Regions from separate parts of the Homo sapiens genome. Here region 2 is linked to region 1. Evidence: promoter capture Hi-C in 16 types of primary human blood cells and fetal thymus (Javierre and others, 2016). All regions are on one chromosome and are shown on one strand. Each heading gives the region's core, a stretch centred on a gene start or on the middle of the fragment in contact. The rest is flanking DNA. Distances are from core to core; before and after follow the strand shown. Region 1 holds the start of MICAL3 (microtubule associated monooxygenase, calponin and LIM domain containing 3). Region 2 holds the start of MIR3198-1 (microRNA 3198-1).

What was found. Contacts are between HindIII fragments. The CHiCAGO score rates a contact against its expected background, and 5 or more counts as called.
Region 2: a fragment that was not itself captured here is called in contact with the fragment with the promoter of MICAL3 in region 1 in 3 of 17 cell types (erythroblasts, megakaryocytes and naive CD4 T cells); the score reaches 6.0 in erythroblasts.

Annotation. Positions count from the first base shown.
Region 1 is chr22:18,023,284-18,025,879 of GRCh38, forward strand. MICAL3 (microtubule associated monooxygenase, calponin and LIM domain containing 3) reads right to left here and starts at 1,278. Exons shown (of 32, transcript NM_015241.3): 1 at 998-1,278. RefSeq lists a silencer at 1,006-1,415. The HindIII fragment of the contact is 4,064 bases long and covers 1-2,572 here.
Region 2 is chr22:17,761,977-17,764,572 of GRCh38, forward strand. The region is part of intron 1 of BID (BH3 interacting domain death agonist); the gene reads right to left. It overlaps MIR3198-1 (microRNA 3198-1), which reads right to left and starts at 2,283; the gene lies at 2,204-2,283. The HindIII fragment of the contact is 2,534 bases long and covers 39-2,572 here.

The DNA.
Region 1 (2,596 bases), core at 28-2,527:
AGACCAATTAAGTCAGAATCTCCAGGGATTGGACCCAGGTAGCAGGATTTCTAAAAATCTCCCCAGCAGCCAGGCCTGAGAGCTAATGAATAGCACCACAGGGCCCAGCCTTTCAGCCTACAGCTTGTCTCGGTTTCACCCTTTTTTCATTTCTTTACAATGAAAATTCTAAATAGTTGATCACAGTGCCAGACCAATAAGAAAGCATTTTAGGGAGGAGAGAGGAGGGAAGGGGTTGGCAGGCACGGAGAGGACTTGACACACAGAAAGCATTTTGCTATGGAGTCATAACCATTTGATTCTAAGACACATGCAGCCTCCAGAAGTCATGCGGCCCCGCCCTCTGCTTCCAGGAGGGAATGAACTTGGCCGTCCTTTTGTTGCACACGCCCGGGAGCTGCGCCGGCGCAGCGCGCCCTGCAGCCTGGGAGCGCAAGCGTGTGCGCCACTGGTCCTGGGCCACCACCGCGCGCCGCGGGCGGGTGCAGGGCCCCTCTGCCGCAGGGAAACCGGCGTTCCCCGCGCAAAGCAGCCGCTGCTCCTAATGAGCTCATGGGTTCACCGCGCTGAGCTAGCCAGAGCGGACCCGGCTTCGCCAAGGGCCTGCTGGCTGTCCTGACACCTGGCCTACCTCGGGGGTGCCTGGGTACGCTCTTCCTTTGCCTGCGGGATAGAAGCACAATGAAAATGGGGTGGACGTGGCTGGGAGACAGCCCTGCTCTCTGGCAGGCTCTGGGGAGTGTGTGGTACGTGGCATCCGCACTGGTGGGTGTCGTGCGATGATCGAGACACGGATACTGGGTGTCTTTCCCACTAGGGGAGAGAGGGCTGCGTTTAGAGGGAAACGAAATAGATCCGAGAAACACAAAGATGTCACAAAGGAAACGCTTCCCCACCATAAGCAATCTAAATAAATGATTCTTAGAAGACATCCAGCAAAACACATAACCTTGTCATTTAGATTCGCTCGCCCACAGGGGGACTGGAGGGTACTCACCGACTAGGGCTTCACAGCCGCATCACCGCCGGCGGTGGGCGCCTGCCTCGGCAGGGGCAGGGTGGGTGCCCGCAGGGCACAGGTGCCGCCGTGGCTGCTCGCACAACCCCTGCAGCTGCGATCCCGCCCAGTTAGCCTCGGGGGCTGCACAGCCCAGCCCCCTCGCCCAGGGCCCAGGGGTTCTCAGGCCGCGCGGCGAGGACGGAGGGCTGCCCCGGGTGCCTGCCTACGCGGGCGCTCCCCGCCGGGACTCCGCCGGGGCTGCAGGAGCGCGCGCTGCTGGCTGGGCGGGCTGCGGCTCCGCGCGAGCGCCGTGGCAACGCGAGCGGGCGCCCCCAGGAGGCCGCGGAGCTGCGGCGTGGGACGCTTGGGTGAGGCTCAAGCCAAAACCAAACCCAAACCATTTCTCCTCCTCCCCATCTTTTCATTTTCTCCCCTTCTTTTCATTTTCTCCCCTTCTCCAACCCCTTCCTCGACACACGTTACTAGCACCTCGAAGGTTGGAAATTCCAGCACTCTCCTGAGGCCTCTTCCCCAGCGAATCCTGCTAACCACGCAGTCGGTGTTCGCTGTGTGTTCGAGCACACACCTCCTTGCAGTGGCTTCAGCACCCAGGTCTCCGGGAGCCAGTGAAGGAACCAAGTGTTGGATACTGAGCAAGTCGCGTAACATCTGAGTAGTCGTGAAATTGAAATTTCAACGGTATAAAGGACACGACGTTGTCTTACAGATTGAAAAATGCTATAAAATGAAGTTCTTACTGTTACTATGATGATGACCCTGGAGATCAGCGCAGAGCCCTGGGGGAGGGCTACAGTTGCAAGCGCTCCAAGGATCAGATCGCGCACTCCTCCCCACCGGAGAAAACCTCTTGATGCCGGAGCCCGGGCAGCCTCTTCCACACTTCCAGCCAGCCCCTTCCACACTTCCAGCCAGCCCCGGCATTGCCACAGCCCGTGGAGCTGGACAGAAATCCACCAGGCACTAAAATAAGTTAGATGGAAGACGGGATGGATTTGACCAAATTCCTATCAGCATCTGCTCAGTATAATTGCAACATTATAATCAGAGCAGAAAGAAGCCCAGAGATTATTTTGTCTTCAAGGATCATTGGCCTCAGTATTATCTCCATCTGAAGCTGTGTTGTCCAAAGCAGATTGACTCCAGCCGGCCAGCTCAGAAGAGGGCCGACTCTGGGCTGGCGACTCCTTGAGAAGGGCTCTCTCTGGTCCCAGGTGGTATTTACTTAACCGTATCATCATCTGCTTCATTCGTGTTCCCTTCATGTCCATCATGTGAGGACGGGAACTGACAGGGCCAGGGTGTCGGCTCAGAGGCAATCTCTGCTCATCCTCTAGAGCCCCACTTCATCACCCAGCCACTCTGTCCACTGTCTCCCCACCTACAAACCTGCAGGTGTTCTGCCCCAGTACTAGAATAAGGGAACACATTTTTACTGAGCTCTGACAATGTGACTGGGCTTTTCAGGAGCTATTTCATTTAATTTTTAATGTAAAACATTGTTTTACATATTAAGAACCTAAAAGCACAAACAGTAAGTAACTTGCTTGTGGAAGCTTATGCAGCGAGATAAGTGGT
Region 2 (2,596 bases), core at 56-2,555, 260 kb before region 1:
TGCCTGAGGCCCTTTTCAGAGAATCTGTGAGGTTGAAAAGCTTCCATAACACAGTTTCTTCTGTCATTCTCTCATGAGGGTACAGTGGACTTTCCCAGGGGCTGAGCGAAAGAGATACTGCAACAACCGAGAATCCAGGTATCCTCTATTCAGTCAGACACCCAGGAGATCTGCAGAAACACTGACGCAATGCTGTTCTTCTCAATAGAAATGTTTTGTTTTATAAAATAGTTACGTTGGCCAGGCGAGGTGGCTCACGCTCGTAATCCCAGAACTTTGGGAGGCCGAGGCGGGTGGATCACCTGAGGTCAGGAGTTTGAGACCAGCCTGACCAATATGGTGAAATCCCGTCTCTACTAAAAATACAAAAATTAGCCGGGCATGATGGCGTGCACCTGTAACCCAGCTACTCGGGAGGCTGAGGCAGAAGAATTGCTTGAACCCAGAAGGCAGAGGTTGCAGTGAGCCAAGATCAGGCCACTGCACTCCAGCCTGGTCAACAGAGCAAGACTCTGTCTCAAAATTAATTAATTAATTAATTTAATTAAACAATTTCACAAATTTCAAATGAATGAACACTTTTTTTTTTTTGGAGACAGGGTCTCACTCTGTCAAGCAGGCTAGAGTGCAGTAGCACGATCATGGCCCACTACAGCCTCAAACTCCTGGGCTCAAGTGATCCTCCTGCCTCAGCTTCCCAAAGTGCTGGGATTACAGGTAAGGACCACTGTGACTGGCCTATTTTTAAAATTTCTCAGTTTTAATTCTAACACAGAATATAGGGATAAAAGCCTACTTAATCAAACGCTTTTTGGTTCCTCAATAATTTTTATATATAAAGGGATCTAGAGACCAAAAAGTTTGAGAAGTGCTGCTTTGAGGAAAAAAAACAAAACCTGTTTGTTTGTTTGTTTTTTTAAGACGGAGTCTCACTCTGTCACCCAGGCTGGAGTGCAATGGCGTGATCTTGCCTCATTACATCCTCCGCCTCCCAGGCTCAAGCGATTCTCCTGCCTCAGCCTCCCGAGTAGCTGGGACTACAGGCATGCACCACCTCATCCGGCTAATTTTTGTATTTTTAGTAGAGATGAGGTTTCACCATGTTAGCCTGGCTGGTCTCAAACTCCTGACCTTAGGCGATCCACCCGCCTCAGCCTCCCAAAGTGCTGGCATTACAGGCGTGAGAAACTTCGCCTGGCCACCTGTATTTTTTCTTTGAAAAATAAAAGCATTTACATAGCTGTTTGTCTCCATCATGTGTATTAATTATAACTTTTTTTTTTTTGAGACATAGTCTGGCTCTGTCATCCAGGCTGGAGTGCAGTGGCACAATCTTGGCTCACTGCAACCTTCGTCTCCTGGGTTCAAGTGATTCTCCTGCCTCAGCCTCCCAAGTAGCTGGGATTACAGGTGACCGCCACCACACCTGGCTAATTTTTGTATTTTTAGTAGAGACCGGGTTCCTCCGTGCTGGTCAAGCTGGTCTCGAACTTCTGACCTCAGGTGATCCGCCCGCCTTGGTCTCCCAAAGTGCTGGGATTACAGGCGTGAACCACCGTGCCTGGCCTTATTATAACTTTTAACAAAGTAACTGACTTCCATTTTACAGAGAACCGCAGGCTGACAGTTGAGAGCTGTCTCCAGACACATGTTTAGCAGACGCCTGTGGGCACACACACCATAGCCTTCACAGCCACTCGCGCCCTTCTATGCTTCCTCAACATGAAAACATACTTTTTTTTTTTTTTTGAAAAGCAACCATTTATTAGAACCAATACAAGAGTATGAAAAGAGGGAAAAGAGGAGGGTAGAAGAGGGGGAGAGAATGAGGTCTGTATCAGATGTCAGTTATGGAAACACATAAATGCTTACTCTTTTTAAACACTGACATTTACAAGGTGAACATATATATAGACCACTTATAATTTAAAAAAAAAAAAAATCAAAAGCAGACATGTTTGGCTGAAATAAAACCAGGAAACACAACCAAAACTCCCCCATAAACCTAAAAGTCCATGGAGAATTCAATTTCTCATTTCCATTCAGAAATCTGGCTACAGAGTGATTTGTTTGCTACTTGGGACAGTACAGCGTGCTGAAAGAAACCCAGCTACTGAGTCTCTTAGATCCCATCCTGTAGGAAGTGGTGGGAAAGCCAGCGGACCATGGGCAAGTCAACTCCTGGCTACTTGGCAGGGCGTCAGACTGTGCTCTCTCCATTCCCCAGGACTCCACAGAACCGTCTGGTACTGCTAGTGCTGGGTGAACAGTGAGAGCACAGTCCACAAAACACAGAGAACCAGAATGTGACTGCAAGCAGCCAGGACCTTGTGCTTTTTCATGGATTACAAATCTAGGGCCAAGGAGAGGGAAAGGAGAAAGAGCCCTATTGGGAAGAGGCGTTGGCTGTGCCCCTACACTGAGATGGAAAGAGTAAGGCTCTTGAGCCCACACCTGGGCAAGTAGAAATAGTGTCCAAACTTTTCTCAAACCAGAGGGAAAAAAGGTCAAGGTTAGGTTAAGACTGCAGACACTAAGAGATCACAGATGCTGAATACAGTGAATCGGATGAAGCTTTAAGGATCAATGCCCAATT